Linked DNA regions of Homo sapiens: region 2 is linked to region 1. The links are contacts of gene promoters, found by promoter capture Hi-C in blood cells and fetal thymus (Javierre and others, 2016). All regions are on one chromosome and are shown on one strand. Each heading gives the region's core, a stretch centred on a gene start or on the middle of the fragment in contact. The rest is flanking DNA. Distances are from core to core; before and after follow the strand shown.

Region 1 (5,860 bases), core at 2,101-4,600:
GAAGACATTATGCTAAGTAAAATAAGCCAGACCCAAAAGGACAAATATTGTATAGTCTCACTTGTATGAGGTACACAGAATTGTCAAATTCATAGCAACAAAAATAGTCGGGCACAATGGCTCATGCCTGTAACCTTCACAGTTTGGGAGGCTGAGGTGGGCGGATCCCTTGAGCCCAGTAGTTCTAGACCAGGAGTTCTGGGCAACATAGCAAGACCTTATCTCTATAAAAAATAATAATAAATTAGCTGGGTGTGGTGGCGTGTGCCTGAAGTCCCAGCTACTCATGAGGCTGAGGTGGAGGACTGGTTGAGCCCAGGAGGTTGAGGCTATAGTGAGTCGTGACAGCACCACTGCACTTCAGCCTGGGCAACACAGAGTGAGACCCTGTCTCAAAAAAAAAAAAAAAAACACACAAAAATAAATCAGAGGTTACTAGGGTTTGGGAGGAGGTAGAATGAGGAGTTACAGCATAATGGTGGCAGTTTCTGTTTGGAGTGATGAAAAAGTTTTGCGAATAGGGGCAATGGTTACACAACAACATGAATGTACTTAATGTCACTGAATTGCACACTTGAAAATGATTAAAATGGCAAATTTTATATTATATATGTAACTACAATAAAAATAAATAAATGAAAGTAAACTTAAAGGCACAGAAAAAGGCAATAACAAAAAAAATGACAGCTAAACTAATAAAGAAAAATGACACTGCATCAGTACCTTTCCACACACTGCGTTCGGGACAGGGGAGGCTGACATCTTCGGTTATGAGCTTCTCGGGCAGCAAGTCTAGCTCCTGACAACTGAAAGAGAGTACAAAACCCATTGAATAAACTGTGAAATATCTATCATCCTAGAAGAACTGGCATCACATTCTGACATCAAGAAGTCAGAAATTCAACCAACTCAACAGGCATTCATTTCAGGAGAAAACAAAACAGCGAAAACTGGGAAAATTCTAGAGCAGCTTGAAGCAATATCCAGCATATTAAAGCACTGAGAGATTAACATATGTTCACTGTAGCATCATCCACAATAGCAAAAAGGTGGACACAAACCAAGTATTCACCTTAATGGGTCTGCAGAAGAGTGGTATATAATACTGTTTTACCATAAACCTAACAAAACTGAAAATTCTCTGGTCAAAGTTTTCAGAAACTTCAACTGGAGCCGAGTTCAAGAGGATACCAAGCTCATGACTATATCTCTAAGTGCCTTCATTGGTCATCTAATAGCTGTATAAGGGATGTTCAATGCAAATGTTCAAAAAAAGTGTTTTTTAACACTTTCTGGAATGATCATGATTTCTCTTTAGTGAGCAATCTGTATCTGCCAACGGTGCTATCGACTGAATGTTTGTGCCCCCTAAAATTCGTATGTTGAAGCCTTAACCCCAATGTGATGGTATTTAAATGAGGCGCCTTTGAGAGGTAATTACGTCAAGAGGGTAGAGCCCTCAGGAATGAGATTAGTGTCCTTCTAAGACAGACAGTGCTTGCTTCCTCTCTCTGGGAAATGAGGATATAAAGAAAGGATGACCCTCTGCAAATCAGGAAGAGGACAGGACCTACACCAGACACTAGATCTGCCAGCATCTTGATCCTGGACTTCCCAGTCTCCAGAACTGTAAGAAACAGATGTCTGTCGTTTAAGCCACACAGCCTATGGTACTTCTGTTACAGAAGCCCAAGCTAACACACAGAAGATCAGCCCCACCCAATATTACCACCTCAGAGAGTCTTATGGGGAAATAAGACTTTGAGACAGTAGTTTAAGATATCAGTAATCAGAGTAAACATGAACTCATTTTCTGAACCAACAAACATAGTATCTCCATCTCTCTTAAGAGATTTATCTTGTATGTTCAGACCGCATATTTTTATTGGTTTACACGTTCTCAACAAAATTGTCACACATACCAAAAATAAAAAATAAATATCCAAAAAGTTGATATACCTTTTCATCTTCCCACTGAAAAAAATTACAGTCTTTTCTATCTCTACAGGCTGAACAGGCATAAAACCTCCGAGTTTCTTCTTTCCCTTGGGTCACCTTTACAAACAGAAGAGTGGGTCCTAGTTCCAGAATAGAAAAAAAAAAAAAAAGTGTCAAGTAATGGTCATCTACGTCAAGTTCTTAGTTTTCGCTGCCCTTAAATAAAATTTGTTTGAGCTTTAGGCACAATTTATCATAATTAAATCCATCTCTTTGGTTGGTTGTTTTTTGTTTTGTTAGGGTTTTTTGTTTTGTTTTCTTGAGACAGGGTCTCCCTCTGTCGCCCAGGCTGAAGCGCACTGGCACAATCATGGCTCACTGAGATCCTGCTTCCTAGCCTCAAGCGATTCTCCCGCCTCAGCATCCCGAGTAGCTGGGACTACAGTTGCGTGTCCCCAGCTGTTTTTCTTTTTTTGTAGACGGAGTGTCATCATTTTTGCCCGGGCTAGTCTCAAACTCCTGGGCTCAAGCGATCAGCCCGCCTCGGCCCCCCAAGTGCTGGAACTACAGGTGCACGCCACCACGCCGGCTTCTCTGTGTTTAATGAATGTTTCTTTTCTCTCTGTTACAACATTCCGGCAGTGACTACTTATAAATAATTTTTGAAAACCGGTCTCTTCAGAAAGAAAATGCTATTGTCGGTACAGTTGCTGTCTACGTTGTGAATATTACAAACCTGAGACTAAAACAAGGAAGGGACTCAGAGAATTGAGGACTTTGACATCTCTTGCGCGGTTACCCTTGCAGTGAAAACCTGAGCTTTGAGCTGGAAACGCCCACTTTCTGTAAGTTAGAGAAAAACTGAGTCTAGTTCGCAGGCAAGAATTACACTGTTTTTCTCCCTAATTTTTTATTTTTGAAGGGAGAGCAAATCAACAAATGAAATCCCCAAGTACTTGTCAACGAGAACTATTCAATACCATGCATTCTTCTCTTTGCCTACTTTTCTGCCCCTTCCCCCCAAAAGAGATGAAATAGTCCTGGAGCCAAAACCACAAGAGTGGAGACTTGCTCTGAATGTTTCTCAAGTAAGTTGAAAAACACCGCGTTCCGAGGAAGGAGTATTTTCTAGGCAGCACACTGGTGAGGGAAAGAGGCGGGTAAAAATACAGGAGCCCCAAAAGCCACTTCCAAGCCAACTCACACCCTCAGCGCCCGGCAGTTAGGCTGAGCCCAGACTCTGACCCACCGTGAGGGCACAGCGGGGCGGGGACGGCAGGATCCAAAGGAAGCACCACCTCCATTCCCGAGCTTCCCCGGCACCCTGCGCTGCCCTCTGCCTCCACGGCTTCAAACCCATTCCTGGAGGCCGCCATCTTCCCGCCGCCGTCCCGAAAGCCTCAGTACGAAACAAGAATGCTGAGAAAGAGCGCCCCCGCGACCCAAAGCGACCCACAGCGCCCCCAGGCGCTTAGGAGGAGCTTGGGCGGGGGCTGCCGCGGCGGAGGCCACGCCCCGAAACGCAGTCCCCGCCCACCTGGGGGCTGCACCTAAGCGGCCCCTAGCGGTGGGGCTCGCAGGTCACTTGCGGGACCTGTGCCATGAGCTCAGCGCATGAAGCACCCTCCTTTCTTAAGAATATAGCCAGGAAGTGAGATGATTCGAACAAAGACTTGGTTGTATTGTAGGTCCAAAAGGCAGCATTACCACCTCTGCCAAATAGCTGAAATGGCTGCAGCAGCTGTGATTTAAGGATCATTCTTTGTTTTTCAAAGTCACAGTCACTGCATCATCCTCTGTAACTTTTGGACAATGCTGAAAGTTGCACATCATAGTTGCATACTCATTGACATTTATACATAAGAAAGAAAGAAAACCGTCCTGATTTGCAGATGACATGATTGTCCACATTTTAAAAATCCGAAAGAATCTATCAGGAAAACACCTCCGGTTTAAACTGAGTTCAGCAAGGTTGCAGGATATGAGATAAACACACAAACATCAACTGGATTTCTAAATACTAGCAATGATCACAAGAACACTAAAAAATAGAATACCACTTACAATCACTCAAATAAATGAAATAGGTGTAAATCTAACGAAATATGTACAGAGCTTTATGTATGCTAAAAACTCCAAAATGCTTGATTAAAAAAAATCAAGGCTGAGTGCAGTGGCTCACACCTGTAATCCCAGCACTTTGGGGGGCCAAGGAGGGAGGATTGCTTGAATCCAGGAGTTCGAAACCAGCCCGGGCAACAAAGCGAGACGACATCTCTAAAATAAATAAGCAATTTTTAAAGTTTTTTAAAAATCAAAGAATAGCCGGGCACGGTGGCTCACGCCTATAATCCCAGAATTTTGGGAGGCCAAGGCAGGTGGATCACAAGGTCAGGAGATCGAGACCATCCTGGCTAACACCGTGAAACCCCGTCTCTACTAAAAATACTAAAAATACAAAAACAAAAAAATTAGCCAGGCGTGGTGGCGGGCACCTGTAGTCCCAGCTACTCGGGAGGCTGAGGCAGGAGAATGGCGTGAACCCGGAAGGCGGAGCTTGCAGTGAGCCGAGATTGTGCCACTGCACTCCAGCCTGGGTGACAGAGTGAGACTCCGTCTTAAAAAAAAAAAAAAAAAATCAAAGAATAAACAAATGCAGAAACATACTGCATTCATAAATCAGAAGACTCAACATAGTAAAGATATCAGTTCTCCCCAGGTTTAATGCTTATACAGGTGTAGCACAATTGCTATGAAAATCCCAGCCAGATTCTTTTTGTACATTTAGACAATATTCTGAAATTTATATGGAAAGGCAAGGGAACTAAAATAGCTAAAACAATTTTGGAAAAAGAATAATGAAGTGGGAGGAATCAGCCTACTCAATTTCAAGTCTTATAGTGCAGTAATCAAGACGCAGCCACATGTCTATGGTTGTAGACGAAATAGTCTCTTATGTTATTTAAAGAACCATTGGGGCATGTGCCTAGTTAACTTCACACATTGAGTGCTATGGTTTATTACTGTAAAAACATGGCTGTTTTTCTTTCACATTTCATGTAATGGTTTTACTCAAATTCTCCATCTGCACCAGTAGCATCTGTATCTTTGATGTACCAGTGTCCCCTTTTTCAAGTTGTCCAGAACACTTTTTCAGTGTATATTATCTGCACATGTCTGGTCTTTTGAGATAGGAAACTTTCTACAGCTATGATGATGATACTCTCGGACACTATCTCAAGACCTAACTAGCTGGGCACACATTCTCAGGACCCCTTGAGACAGTGCCCTAGGCAGAATAAAAACTAAAAGACCTAACTACCTACTCACATGAACTCTAGCACTTTTATTTACAAATTTGTTTTAGATGTACAAATTTGTGATCTTAAAAGACTTGTTTATAAAATTTGCAAGTGAATTTGTAACTCGTAAAACCAGAGTTACTGAGTCTGTATTTCCTCTTTCTCTTTTAAATAATGCTGATTCTGTGAGGCAACCTCTCTAAGCAGCCAAAACCAGTACAGATGTGCAGCCTTTACAGATAAGCTTCCCCAAACAGTAAAAACACAACAAAGATTGATCCAAATAAGGTAAATGGGAGGGCACTGCAAAATGTGAGAGCTGCTGAAGGTTTCAAACATCAGGCCATTTTGTTTGCAGAGGGATAATTTTGGGGAGAAAAAAAACTCACCTTATTTTCAGATATATATATGGTAAATAGCCTGTGTTAAATATTTACTGATGGGATTATGAATATGACCAATAAGTTATACATGTTTCATTTAATTTCCTGATAGTGTCTTTAGTCTGCACAGGAAAATGCTTGAGTAGAAACATACTGAGAGATTCAGCAAGGTTCTGAAAGGAAGCCAGAGACAGAACTGAAAATAGGTCCCTTGAGGCCTAAGCACCAGGAGAGACC
Region 2 (5,860 bases), core at 1,024-3,523, 1.0 Mb before region 1:
TAACCCTCCACTCTGTTGCCTCTCTTAATGAACGCTGCTAGGGGGAGCCATTGAAAGGTTTTTAGATTAAGCAGTGATCAGATTTGCTCTTTAGAAAGACTGCTCTGCTACATGTAGAAGCTGGATAAAGGTGGTGACTCTAGAAGCAGAAAGAGGCTGTCAGTACGTCATAGTAAACCAGGTGAGAAATGACAGCATGAACTTCGGCAGTGAGGATAAGGGAAACAAATTCAAGAGATTTTTTAGAAGGAAAAATGATCAGTTCTCAGTAATTAAATGTAAAGGCTGGTGAGAGAGGAATTAGGAATCGTGGCTTTGGGAACCAAACGGAATATGGTATCATCTACCAAGAACAGAGAAGCAACAGGTTTCATTCAGTCAATACGTATCTACAGAGTGCTCCTCAAATGCAAAACACTTTTCTAAGGCCAAGAGTCAAATCTGAAATTATAGTCATGGTTATTAGAATTTATTCTTAAGAGCAAATAACAAAGCACTAAAAAATATAAGGCATATTTAAAATTAATCACTGCTATTAACAGACTTGGCTTAGAGTCCAGTGAAAGCATGTTGTACTACCATTTGTTAAATATTACTACATGCAGGCCAGGCATGGTGGCTCACCCCTGTAATCCCAGTACTTTGGGAGGCCAAGGTGGGCAGATCCCTTGAGGTCAGGAGTTTGAGATCAGCCTGGCCAACATGGCGAAACCCCATGTCTACTAAAAATACAAAATTAGCCAGGTATGATGGTGTACGCTGGTAATCCCAGCTACTCAGGAGGCTAAGGCACGAGGATCGCTTGAACCCAGGAGGTGGAGGTTGCAGTGAGCTAAGATTGTGCCACTGAACTCCAGCCTGGCCACAGAGTGAGACCCTGTCTCAAAAAATAAAATAAAATAAATAAATAGAATATTGCTACATGCAGAAAACAAAAGAGGAAAGGCATCCCATAATTTTATAATGTTATTACATTTGAGTTTGACAGAACTTCAATCTCTTACACCACACACACACACACACACACACACTCACACACGACACATCACCCTGTAATTTGTTTTATTTGTCCCTTTCCCTATAAGTTTATGGGGGGCAGGAATAAAGGTATCTGTTTTATTACCCATATTATAATACATATTTGGGATTTTAAAAAATCCCACTATCGCTACTGTGTCTTGCCAAGAACTTAAAAACCTCCTATTTGACTTCCTATAAAATATGACCTACTTCACATTAGCTTATTTCAGTAACAATTCCTAGACCTTCCCCACAGTTTTCATCCAAGGATGCTCTCTGCGAATCTTAAGGCACAGCAATCCTGTGCAGATGTGGCAAGTTATTATAATTCCCATTTTACTACATAGTTAGGAAACTGGCCCAGGGGAAGTAGAGTAACTTGGAAATAATCACAAAGCCAGATGCCAAAAATAACAACTTTTAGTCAATCCATGAGAAAATACTGCCCCTAGTTGAGATAACATGAAATTTAGTATTAGGAGGAAGCAAAATGCAAAATAATGCTTTAAAGCCAAGTCCTGGGTCTTATTTCTAAAAATGAACAGAAGAATGAGATGTATAATAACTTTCAAACGAAACAATTTTTTCCTAATGCCTTACCCATCAAGGGTGCCAAAGGTTATTTAATGAATTACATCTGGCAAGAATGGCCTGTCAACCAAACCAATTTTGATCTTACCCACTTAAAAAAAACATTGATAGAAATCTGTTGGTATAGGACAACAGATAACTTTTTAACAAACCTAACTGCTTAAAATCTAATGCCTACAAGTGTGTATTAGTACAGATTTGAAAATATTGCAAGTCTCCTGTTTTCTGAAAATATACTCACAGATCCATCAGCAATATGCATGGATAATAAAATTTAAAGCTTTAACAGTTAATACTCAGAATGAAAGTTCTCCAGCCACAACGCATCCAGATTTCGAAATATGCTGCTGTTATAATTTAATTAAAAGCAGTTTTATTTCACCAATCATGTAAGTAAAAGTATTACACGATTTAGAAAGAAAAACGCAACTCAAATGGTAAAAGCGCTTTTATCATGTCTGTGTAATCATTCTTACAGGTACAAGTCAGAGCAAAATACCTTCCATTACTACACAGTATTTACACTTTGCTCCCAGTCAGAGAACCAGTGAGCTCAAGATTTTACCTTCAAAACAATGATTATGTACAAGAACAAGTAAGGGAGACATAAGATTATTGGTAAAACCCACTCAAGCGACCCAGACTGCAGATTTTCACAAAAAAACTTATGTATCAATCATGAAAACATGGTTTTCCATTAATTAAAACTCAAACTACTAATTCTAATCACAGCCAGAAAAAAAAGTATTTTCCAATGCTCCAATACTCGTTAGAGTAGATCTCGTATGTCCCCTATCAACAACACTTCACTATTGTAGAACTTCAGTTTGTAAATGAAATGACACTCCAAATGATTTTATGGGTAACATACCTTCTAAAAGTAGAGATCAACCAGTAGAAAAAAAACAAACTCTTGAAGAATACCTTCAGCATAGTAATCCTGGTAAATATAATAACTCTTATTCCTAGCACCCAGAATAACTCAAGTCATTAGAATACATCACACCACACCCCCCACCCCCATTCACACAACCCCAAGCTTTTAGCATTACCAAAACAATAAGAACTCGAAACACTTCAAGGGTTCTTTAACACTAGGAAGTGTCTTTAAAATAATCTCACTACAGGCTATTACGTGTGTGTGTGTATATATATATATAATATACATATTATACGTATACTTTTTAACTGCATTTGATTAATATCTTCCACAAAGATCTTAGAAGCAGTATTCATCGACCAGAAACTGCACTCTTCGGTGCTGTCCTCATTTCAACCCCAATGATGGGACAGAAGGGTTGTCACGCATCTACAGGGCAGCAAAAAGCACATAACTGTAAACTATCTAATGATTAAGAAAAAATAAAACATTTATATAAAATTCCCAAGCGGAATGCCTCTCCTTTTCCTTATGAGGCAGAAGTTACTGATAAATTCTAAATCCAGATTTCTAGAAAATGCTGAAATTCTCCGCCCCAACACTCACAAGTTTTTAACATGGAAATTCACTCAACTCCTACTCACACGCCAAATGAATATCCATTGTGGCTATCTGAAACTATTCTCAAACACTAACAGAAAAACACATATATACATCTTGAGCCTCCTTCTAACCGTCCTACGATACCCTCCAATCATCCTCAGGCAGCCTAGATTGCAAAGCTTCGACAGACAGCTGCCCTTGGCCTACGCCGTCAGGAACCAGGAGGGGGGCGGGGGCCGGGGGGCGCAAGAACCACCAAGAGACCAGATCTTTTTCCAAGGCTACTGTTTCCAAGCAAAACAACCCACGGCACTAAAAAGACGGCGATGAAAATTGGAGACGCTTTAATCCCGAGAGAAAGGGGTGGCGATAGGGGGGCGGGAGGGTACAAGAAATCCCGAGAAAAAGAGGTGCGGAGGAGAAAACTAAGTATCCCATGCATCTTTCAGACCCACAAAACAACAAACCGTAGAGTCTTGTGTGCACTTAGAAGCAGCAGATGGAGTCCCCGGGGCTGAGACAGTTCAGCAGACGTACACCGTGGGTTGTGGATAAATCAACCGATGACGGGAGAGGAAGGGGGTGCCGAGAGAATAAGCCCGTGGATGGGGGAGACAAAGCCTCGGGGGGTGATCCAGGACCATACAGAAAGGTGAGAGGGGACCCACAGGAGAAAGACAATGGAAGAACAATTAAGGCAGAAATCTGGTGCCCGGGCTGTGGCAGGTCACTGGGCTAACGACAAGAGTGTGGCACAACAAAGGGGCACGGGAGGAAGGACAGCGGAGGGGAGGAGATGGAGAGGGGATGCGGGACGCCACGGGTCGGACAAAGCGCCCAAGGCGGCGAAACAAAGGGCCGGGGGTAGAGAGTCGCAGCGGGTAGCGGTGAAAGACAAAGCGCCCGGGGCCGGGGGCACTAGCGGGGCGAAGCGGCGACAACGGCCGCGAGGAACAAAGATGCACGGGGCCCCCAGGCAGAGCCCGCTGGAGGCGCGCGGGAGGCACGGCGCCCGAGGGCCCCGCGCGCCCTGCCGCACTCACGCCCGCACCCGCCGGCCTCGCCGCCGCCGCCGCCGCCCGCCCTCACGCGCTGGAGCCTGAGCCACGGCAGCGCAGAGCGGCAGCGCACGGCCACACGCCGCCGCCGCCGCGCTCGGCGCACGCGACGCCGCCCCCGCGGGCCCCCGAACGCCAAGCGCGCCGCGGCCCCCGAACCCGCTGCCCGCCGTGAGCTGCCAGACGCCCGCAACTTTCCCGGTTCCCGGCGCTCCGATTCCCTCAGACTTACCCTGTCACAACAGGCGCCATCTTCCACAAACTCTCGCCAAAACTCCAACCCTCGCGAGATTCCCCCCGACGCCTTCCCTGGTCCCTCTCCCCCGCCCCTTCCCTTTTTCCTCACTCCTCGATTCCACCCAGCCCCCGCGCTCCCTTTCCCCTCGCCGCCGCCGCGAAGAGCCAGACGCCTCGCGCCGCCCGCAGAGTAGGGGATCCTGCTCGCTGCCTTCCCTGGAAACCTACCCAGGCGATGGAGCATGCGCAGGCGGCTCCTCCGCGGGCGAGCCCTCCGTGTGGTCCATGGGGAGCGCTCCGGTTATCCGGGTTTTAGGACGCGCTTTGAGGGACGTACGTGGAGACTGAGGAAAACCGGAGGGGATTACTACGGGGACGAGGAATGGAGGGGTCAGGAGGCGGGGCCGAGGAGAAGGGAGGAGGGGTCCTGGGAAAATGGGCTGCGTTTCACAGGCCTAGATGAAACACCTCCTCAATGGGTGTTTTCCAAGCGGCTTCCCGCTCACTCTGGGTTCCCAGCTATTTTCATTCATTCAAACGTTCCCTGGGCGCCTCCTTTATGCTAATCTCGGCGTTTGGTGCAGGAGCGCCAGAGATGTCTGGGGTTCGGGCAAGTGACACGTCGGGGACTGTCTTCATTCATTACACCCCCCCATGCTAATGAGGAGGCCCTTCCAGAGCTCCTCAAGCGGAAAACTTTTGCAGTTGAGCTCTCTCGCCTTAGCGTTCTCCTTGGGTGTGAAATGAGGTCAAGCCAAGGCCTCTAGCAAAGACACCCCTAATGGCCACCTCGCAGACACACGCCAGAGCGCGGAGTAGTTCTCTCCAGAAGGGAAAACTGCCTTGGAATTGAGAGCCACATTCTCCCACCTCCGAGTCTGCCCAGAGGACCCGATCAAAGCTCTTGCCGCTCGCGTGCTGCATGGCCTCTCTAAGACCCCATCGCAGCCACCACCGTGTGTGAGCCCAGGTGTGTGTTGAGACCACTACTGCACAGGGAACCGGGCCACCCGAGGGCCTGGCACAGCCGAGGACGCTGCCGGCTGCCCGAATCGCGCTTCAGGCGGCCTGATCCCGGAAGCCCCCGGGCAAACCTGGCCCCACCGGGCATGGAACAGCAGGGTGAAGGGCCCGAATCCCGCCCCCTCCTCCTACCTGCAGCCCCCCATCTTTCCCCTCCTTTGCTCTTTCCTTTCCTAGAGATTCCCAGATCCAGCACTGCCTCCCGCAGGGAGCCCCAAAACCCGGAGAACTGGAATTCGCCGCCCGAAACCTGTTGAAGGCGCTGCAGGATTGGCGCGGCCCGCGCGAGCGGCACTGCGCATGTACCCAATGCGGGCAGTCCAGTCTCACGCTACACCTCCTTCCCACCGCCTTCCACTACTCGGCTCAGACACAACACGGCCGTGGGAAATTTCCTAAACCTCGCGAGAACGTGCCCCTGTTGCCTAAGCTTTCGCCCCAAATCTCG

The links. The method cuts DNA at HindIII sites, captures the fragments that hold promoters and counts their contacts. A CHiCAGO score of 5 or more calls a contact.
Region 2: a contact is called between a fragment that was not itself captured here and the fragment with the promoter of ZCCHC4 in region 1, in 1 of 17 cell types (naive CD4 T cells). The highest score is 6.1, in naive CD4 T cells.

What each region holds. Positions count from the first base shown.
Region 1 is chr4:25,310,264-25,316,123 of GRCh38, reverse strand. It overlaps ZCCHC4 (zinc finger CCHC-type containing 4), which reads right to left and starts at 3,350. Exons shown (of 13, transcript NM_024936.3): 1 at 3,188-3,350; 2 at 1,960-2,078; 3 at 724-806. The coding sequence starts at 3,314. RefSeq lists enhancers at 3,232-3,291, 2,820-3,696, 5,284-5,423 and silencers at 3,290-3,494, 3,502-3,571. The HindIII fragment of the contact is 7,197 bases long and covers 1-5,486 here.
Region 2 is chr4:26,319,573-26,325,432 of GRCh38, reverse strand. RBPJ (recombination signal binding protein for immunoglobulin kappa J region) reads right to left here and starts at 4,419. Exons shown (of 11, transcript NM_015874.6): 1 at 4,385-4,419. The coding sequence starts at 4,404. RefSeq lists enhancers at 3,042-3,963, 5,196-5,245 and silencers at 4,076-4,175, 4,246-4,375, 5,846-5,860. The HindIII fragment of the contact is 759 bases long and covers 1,894-2,652 here.